Linked DNA regions of Homo sapiens: regions 1 and 2 are each linked to region 3. Evidence: promoter capture Hi-C in 16 types of primary human blood cells and fetal thymus (Javierre and others, 2016). All regions are on one chromosome and are shown on one strand. The core of a region is centred on a gene start or on the middle of the fragment in contact, and the rest is flanking DNA. Distances in the headings are between cores, read along the strand shown. Region 1 overlaps LOC124905094 (a long non-coding RNA gene). Region 2 has its middle 14 kb from the start of MIR6817. Region 3 holds the start of MYO18B (myosin XVIIIB).

The links. The method cuts DNA at HindIII sites, captures the fragments that hold promoters and counts their contacts. A CHiCAGO score of 5 or more calls a contact.
Region 1: a contact is called between a fragment that was not itself captured here and the fragment with the promoter of MYO18B in region 3, in 1 of 17 cell types (total B cells). The highest score is 5.3, in total B cells.
Region 2: a contact is called between a fragment that was not itself captured here and the fragment with the promoter of MYO18B in region 3, in 1 of 17 cell types (fetal thymus). The highest score is 5.6, in fetal thymus.

Annotation. Positions count from the first base shown.
Region 1 is chr22:25,475,850-25,478,549 of GRCh38, forward strand. LOC124905094 (a long non-coding RNA gene) reads left to right here. Exons shown (of 2, transcript XR_007068036.1): 1 at 1-1,755; 2 at 2,339-2,700. Among named protein-coding and RNA genes, the nearest start is that of MIR6817, 22 kb to the left of the region's middle. The HindIII fragment of the contact is 3,329 bases long and covers 1-2,700 here.
Region 2 is chr22:25,440,697-25,443,396 of GRCh38, forward strand. No RefSeq gene overlaps it. Among named protein-coding and RNA genes, the nearest start is that of MIR6817, 14 kb to the right of the region's middle. The HindIII fragment of the contact is 315 bases long and covers 1,120-1,434 here.
Region 3 is chr22:25,740,851-25,743,550 of GRCh38, forward strand. MYO18B (myosin XVIIIB) reads left to right here and starts at 1,338. Exons shown (of 44, transcript NM_032608.7): 1 at 1,338-1,443. The HindIII fragment of the contact is 14,245 bases long and covers 1-2,700 here.

The DNA of each region.
Region 1 (2,700 bases), core at 172-2,671, 260 kb before region 3:
TCCCCGCTCCACATTGTTAACTTCTAGCAGACTGTGGCTGGGAGCCAAGAAGTGGGTTTTAAATACACAAAAGGAAACAGAGCATGGCGAGGTCTGGAGGACAGAAGCCATCAGAGAGTGGGTGTTCCGGGGGGTGGCGATCATAGAGGCACTGCACCACGCCTGGAGCCAGGGAATGACTTTTGCTTGGCCCTTGAAGTTTCTAGAGGCTGAACTTAAGCGCTGCAGCCCCTTGTACCCACTGCTCAGCCTTTAGTTGGCTTCTTGCAGTGAAATCCCAAAAGGGAAAGCCGGGAAGGCCCTTAAAGACCACTTGATCCAGTGGTTTCCAAACTTTTTTTCTTTTTTTTTTTTTTGAGATGGAGTTTAGCTCTCGTTGCCCAGGCTGGAGTGCAATGGTGTAATCTTGGTTCACCACAACCTCTGCCTCTCAGGTTCAAGTGATTCTCCTGTCTCAGCCTCCCAAGTAGCTAGGATTACAGGCATGTGCCACCACGCCCTGCTAATTTTGTATTTTTAGTAGAGACGGATGGGGTTTCACCATGTTGGTCAAGCTGGTCTCGAACTCCTGACCTCAGGTGATCTGCCCCTATTAGCCTCCCAAAGTGCTGGGATTACAGTCATGAGCCACCGCACCTGGCCCCAAACTTTTTTTTTTTTAAGCAAAGAAATTGTTTCCTGGATAACCTCACATAAAGCATCCCAGTATGTAAAGCAGATAATAGTGTTGGAAGTGACAACCTGGAATTCTGTCCATGGGGACTCTTCTCCTTGTACTCCCACACACAGAAACCCTTCAGCTTATGCTTCCAACGTCAGTGTCCAAAGAAACTTTAGACAAATCCAGCCCCTTCATTCACAGATGGAGACATTATTGTTAGTTGTAGTAAATGTTAGCTAACTACCAGTACTTACACTTTAAACGTGCCTGGCATAGGAGAATGATTTTATATGTCTGATAGTATCAAATCCCCACAACTACCTGATAAACTAAGTATTATAATGACCCTCATTTTGCAGGTGAGTAAACAGAAGTCTAGAGAGGTACAATCACTTCCGAAAGTCACCCAGCTGGTAAGTGGTGAAGGCAGAATTCAGAGCCCAGTGTGGCTGACTCAATAGCCTGTGCCATCCACCCCTACATGAGTTGCCCAGGGAGGTTAGAGACTGTCCCACAGTCTCATAGGAGCTGAGCAGGGACAACGAGGTGGCCTGGTGTGGAGGGAAGGTCACGGGTGTGTGGGGCTGGAGCTCTGGGTCCAAGATGTTCATCAGCTGCCTGTCCTGGCTGGTAAGAGACTGAGGGTGAGTGGTCAGTGAGCATGAGAGGGGGAAGGGAGCCTTGGGAGACCACACTGGAGAACCTGGAACTAGGGAGCTATAGCAGGTGTCTGAGCTAGAGAATTAATCCTACTGTTGGCTGCACATCAATATTGGGACAATAGGCCCAGATGTGTCATTCCTAATAATCACAATGGGGCAGGATGGTGCTCAAAGCACTTTACTGGCATGATCTTAATCATCACAAAGCCTCTATGAGAGAGGTGATGTCATGATACCCATTTTACAGATGAGGTCGCTGGGGGCTCAGGGAAGTGAAGTGCTTTGTCCAGGGTCACGTGGCTGAAGAGTGGGGGAGCTGACACTTGAAGCCAAGACTGGCTGACTTTCAAGCCCACATGCCTCTGTCAGTTAAGTGTGGTGATGGTAATGCTGTGTAACAAACAATCCCCCAAATCTCTGTGCTGTAGGACAGTAAGTGTTGATTTAGCTCGCATGTCTAATGTGGGTTGGCTGAGCCAGGCTGGGCTCAGCTGGGCAGCTGTGTGCTCATCCATGTGTCTCTCATCCTGTCCTGGGATCAGTGGACTAGCCTTGGCATATTCCCCTCCTGCTCATGGCAGGAGTGCAAGGGGGTGAGCAGAAACACACAAAGTCTCTTGAGGCCTAGACTCAGGACCACACAGAGTCACTCCTGCCTCATTCTATTGACCCTAGCAAGTCACAGGGCCAAACCCAGGGTCAATAGGTGGGAAATGGTACTCTGTTCTTTTAACGGGAGGAACTGCAAAGTCGCTTGGCAAGGGTGAGAATACAAAGAAGGGTAAAGAATTGGAGGCAAGTTTTGCATTATATCATATTGTCTGTGCTGGTTTAAAATATGTTCACACAGTCTTTGATAATTCCTTCAAAAGATGGAGCCTAATTCTACATCTCTTGAGTGTGGGCTAGCCTTACTGACTCCCTTTTAATGAATAGAACAAAGTGGAAGTGATGGTGTGCAACTTCCAAGGCAAGGTCATAAAAGACATTGTGGCTCCCTCCTCGCTCTCTTGAGGATCACCCACTCTAGGGAAGCCAGCTGCCATGTCGTGGGGATATTCAAGCAGCCCAGTGGAGAGACCCATGTGGTGAGGACCTGTGATCTCCAGCCAGCAGCTGTGTGAGTGGCCTATCTTGGAAGCAGCTCCTCCAGCCCCAGTTCAGTCTTCAGATGAGACTGCAGCTGCAGCTGACATCCTGACTGCAACCTGATGAGAGACCCAGAGTCAGAACTGCTCAGACTAAAGTTGCTCCTGAATTTCTGACCCGCAGGAACTGTGAGACAACAACTGTTTATTGTTTTAAGTTGCCAAGTTCTGGGGTAGATTTGCTTGCAGCAATAGATACGAATGCTGTGTCTAAGTATTCTGCCAACTC
Region 2 (2,700 bases), core at 27-2,526, 300 kb before region 3:
CACCGTGCCTGGCCAAGAACAGAGATTTAAAAAGACAGACCACTGGGCCTGGTGGCTCATGCCTGTAATCCCGGCACTTTGGGAGGCCGAGCCGGGCGGATCACCTGAGGTCGGGAGTTCGAGACCAGCCTGACCAACATGGAGAAACCTCCTCTCTACCAAAAATATAAAATTAGCTAGGCCTGGTGGCACATGCCTATAATCCCAGCTACTTGGGAGGCTGAGGCAGGAGAATCACTTGAACCCAGGAGAAGGAGGTTGTGGTGAGCCAAGATTGCACCATTGCACTCCAGCCTGGCAGCAGAGCAAGACTCCTCTAAAAAAAAAAAAAAAAAAAAAAAAAAAGGCAACATTGTGGGCCATAAAATAATACCACAACTTATTTAAATGAATGAAATTTCTAAAATATGCTTTCATAGCATTACAAAATTAGACTAGAATTCAGTAATAGAAAGATAAATGGAAAACCTCCAAATATTTGGACATTAAATCATGTACTCTGCAAAACACATGGATCAAAGAAGATGCCTCAATGAAGTTGTAAAAATACATATATATTTTTTGAGATGGAGTTTCACTCTTGTCACCCAGGCTGGAGTGCAGCGGTGCAATGTCAGCTCACTGCAATGTCCGCCTCCCAGGTTCAAAGCGATTCTCCCACTTCACCCTCCCGAGTAGCTGGGTCTACAGGTGCACACCACCACACCCGGCTAATTTTTGTATTTTTAGTAGAGACAGTGTTTCACCATGTTGGCTAGGCTGGTCTCGAACTCCTGACCTCAAGTGATCCGCCCACCTCAGCCTCCCAAAGTGCTGGATTACAGGCGTGAGCCACCATGCCAGGCAATTTTTTGTATTTTTTAGTAGAGATGGGGTTTCACGGTGTTAGCCAGGATGGTCTCAATCTCCTGACCTTGTGATCTGCCCACCTCGGCCTCCCAAAGTGTTGGATTACAGGCATGAGCCACCACACACAGCTGAAAAAATATTTTAAACAAAATGAAATAAAAATGTACCTTGTCAAGATCTGTGGGATGCAGTCAAAGCAGGGCTCGGAGGGAAATTTATAACTGAATGCCATGTGATAGAAAATAAGAAAGACCTAAAGTCAATAACCTAAGCTTTCACATTAGAAAACCAGACAAAACAGAGCAGTGTTATAGAAAGCAGACAGAAGAATAGCAAAAGCAATAATTACTGCAGAAATCAATGGAATGAAAAATCAAAAATCAACAGAGAAAGTTATCAAAACCAACAGCTGTTTCTATGAATAGATAAAAAAAAAAATCAATAAACCTCCAGGCAGGCTAACCATGAAGAAAGGAAGTCATAATGTACTAATAACTAAAGGAGAGGTCATCATTTGTGATTCTATGGGCATTGAGAAGACCATGAGGGAATACTTTGAGAAAATCTATGCCCAGAAATGTGATAAGCTTAGGAACCGATTCCTTCAAAGGCAGAAACTATAAAACTCACCAAGGAGAAATTGATAAACTGAATAAACCTGTATCAATTTTAGACATTGAATCAATCAGTAACTTTTCCAAAAAAAAAAAAAGCACCAGGCTTAGATGGTTTTACTGGTAAATCCTACCAAATTCTTTTTTTTTTTTTTGGAGATGGAGTCTTGCCATGTTGCTCAGGCTGGAGTGCAGTGGCACAGTGTTGGCTCACTGCAGCCTCCACCACCTGGGTTCAAGTTATTCTCCTGCCTCTGCCTCCTGAGTAGCTGGGACTACAGGCATATGCCACCACACCTGGCTAATTTTTGTATTTTTTTTTTTTTGAGACGGAGTCTCGCTCTGTCGCCCAGGCTGGAGTGCAGTGGCGCGATCTCGGCTCACTGCAAGCTCCACCTCCTGGGTTCACGCCATTCTCCTGCTTCAGCCTCCCCAGCAGCTGGGACTACAGGCGCATGCCGCCACGTCTGGCTAATTTTTTTTTGTATTTTTAGTAGAGACGGGGTTTCACTGTATTAGCCAGGATGGTCTTGATCTCCTGACCTTGTGATCCGCCCGCCTCAGCCTCCCAAAGTGCTGGGATTACAGGCATGAGCCACCGCGCCCAGCCTAATTTTTTTATTTTTGGTAGAGACAGGGTTTCACCATGTTGGCCAGTCTGGTCTCGAACTCCTGACCTCACGTGATCTGCCTGCCTCAGCCTCCCAAAGTGCTGGGATTAAAGGCATGAGCCACCGTGCCCAGCAACCCTACCAAATTCTTATGTAGTCTTATCATATAAGTAAGTGATCACAATCCTAAGTATTTACCCAGTTTAATTAAACAATTATGTATGGGCTGGGCCTCCCTACTCGGGAGGCTGAGGCAGGAGAATTGCTTGAACCTGTGAGACATTGGTTGCAGTGAGCTGAGATCGCACCACTGCACTCCAGCCTGGGCGACAGAGCAACACTCTGTCTCAGAAAAAAAAAAAATTATGTCTGTACTAAAAAGTCCACAGGAATGTTTATGGTAGCTTTATCCATACTGCCCACATTGAAAGCAACCTTTATGTTCTTCAGTAGGCGAATGTACCAACAAACTTTGTTACACTGATCAATGGAATATTATCCAGTGATAAAAAACCATTGAGATACATTTGGATTCGATTTATTAATCTCAGTTACCTACTATTCTGACATTTTAGGAAGGAAGTAATTGTTTTTAATGATGGATAAACTTGTGTGGTGTTTCAGAT
Region 3 (2,700 bases), core at 88-2,587:
TGCTCGATGAGCTCTGGGGAAAGAGGAGCAGCACCACATAGCAATTATTGAAACAATTCTCACAGGAGCAGTATCATGCTGGGCTGATTGCGGTCTTTGGAACCAGAAAGACTTGGATTTGAGTCATGACTCTACCCTTTGCTAGCTGCATGGACCTGCATGGTTTATCCAATTTATTGAAGTCTGTACTTTGCTCCTTTTAGGCAGTGGACAAAGCACTTTTTTTGTTGTTGTTTTTTTGAGATAGAGTCTCTTATCGCCTAGGCTAGAGTGCAGTGGCGTGACCTTAGCTCATTGCAACCTCCGCCTCCTGGGTTCAAGCAATTCTCCTGCCTCAGCCTCCCAAGTAGCTGGGATCACAGACAACCACTACCCCACCCAGCTGATTTTTTTTTTTTTTTTTGAGATGGAGTCTCTCTCTGTCACCCAGGCTGGAGTGCAGTGGCGCGATCTCGGCTTACTGCAAGCTCCGCCTGTAGCTGGGACTACAGGCGCCCACCACCACGCCCGGCTAATTTTGTTTTTGTATTTTTAGTAGAGACGGGGTTTCACTGTGTTAGCCAGGATGGTCTCAATCTCCTGACCTCGTGATATGCCCACCTCGGCTTCCCAAAGTGCCGGGATTACAGACGTGAGCCACCGTGCCAGGCCCAAAGCACTTTTTTATAGCCCCTAGTTTGCTGTTGTGTCTGTTTCCTCTACGGCCCGCACAGCCTGGGTTTGAATTCTGGCTCTCCATGGCCTTGGGCAAGTTGGTTAACTTTTTGTGTCTCAATTTCCCCACTTGTAAAGTGGGGCTGGGGAAAAACCCTACCTCATAGGGAACATTAAGTGAGTTCATGAAAGCCCTCGGTGTGTGGCATGCGATAACCACTACCTAAGCATAAGGTATGTTTACATGCACTGGTTGTTTACCACGACGCACCAGCATTCATTCAAGTTATTTTCTTCCAGAGTCTGCCTGGAATGTAGAACCGGCCAGCTCTCCTCCTCAAACAGTTCCTGCAACCTCTGGTTATCTGTGTGGGCAGAGGCGGGAGTGTGGGTGTGTGGCCCTGCCCTGGGACAGGGATGACGAGAGAGCATGTGCTTGTGTCCAGAGCTGTCCCCTTCCCTGCTCAGGGGCCACCAAATATGTCCATGGTCTCTGCTGCCTGGTCAACGGCCACCCCGGGCTGCCGTCTCCTGGCCAGACCTGGAGCTCACAAGCTAATTTTAGAAATGACTGGTCGACTCAGCTGCTGCTATCACATTGGCCCAGAAGGAGGGTGGGGGGAGGACGGGTCGGGGAGGGGCAGTAAGGGGAAGGGATGTGTGTCGGTGTGTGTGGAGAGGGTGCTCCTTCGCTCCTGCTTTCCCGGCTCGGTGGGGTCCCTTCGCGGCCACCCGGGGAGACGTCTTAGACAGTCGTGGTTCCTGTGATCTGTGTCCTCTTTGCAGAAGGTACTATTGGGCTGGGTTTTAGACGGGCACCTTGCGAGCGGATCGGCGAGTTTTAATTTTCCGGAATGCGCTGCTGGGGGCTGCGGTGGCAGGCCTCCGGTCTTTTGGTCTATTTTAGGCCTTTCTGGTGTTGAGAGCTTCCGAGGCCTGATTCCTTTGCCTGTTGCCCGTGCTGCTCACTTTGAAAACAAGAGTGTTTCGGTGGAAGGATTTGAGAACAAAATGCTGGGGCAAATGGACATTCGTAAGAATCACTCTCCTCAGGCCCCAGCTGTTCGCTAATAATTTTTAAAAATGTGTTTAGAATCATGAGTTAATCTCCACTGTGAATCTTTGCCCGCAGACGTCAGGGTTTATATTTTTCCTCAACTACCAGTAATTTCTGCTTCACTGGTGTTCAGTTATGGTCGGGGAAGAGCCAGGCTTCCCCTTTCGTGTTAACAACGCTGTTGAGTCGAAATGTTAATTTTAATGTTCTTTTTTAAACTGCAAATTAAGCATGTATGAGTGTTGGGGGAAGGGCAATGGAAGTTCATGGCTGAAGGTTTCAATTTCATGCCACCTTCCTTGAGCTCTGTCTGAGGGAAGGTGTCTTATCTGGCACCCCGGATAGCAGGCATTTCTCTGAATGAAGAAGATTCACAGGTCCCAGTGGCCCCATAGTGGGGCAGAAGGGGGCTATGCTTTGACATGGAGCTCTCTCCCAGGAGAGGAGAAGACCTCACCAGCTACAGGCCTCTGGGCTGCTGCCTTCCTGCAGCTTTTCCATGGAGGAGGCCAGGAGTGGGGAGGCCCGGAATGGGGAGCCCAGTCGGCTCCCAGTCGGCTCCAAGCTGTCCAGTCTGGCCTCAACCCGCAAGTGTGGGGATCTGGGCTTCTATCCTGTAGGGCCTGGAATACGACGAGGCTGTTACTTTCACTTTGTGGCTGTCCAAAAAGATGCTGCCTCATTCAGTGCACCAGCTCATGGAGGCTGAGTGTCCCACTAGGGCTTCTAGACTCCAACAAGGATAATGGTGGCCTTGGGTGCTGTATCCATTGCTGACCTAAGTTGTATTCTCCTATGCCTGGGTACCATGTCCAGTGTGTACCTTGGGAGCAGAAAAGAGAGGGGTCTATATACTCTTAGGCTATGGATGAGTTCTAGAAAATAATAGTGGAGAGGAGAGAGAGAAAAGAAGGAAGAGGAGGAGGAGAAGGAGAAGAAGAGAAGGAGGAGGAGGAAAAAAGCAGGAGGAGAAAGAGAAGAAGGAGGAG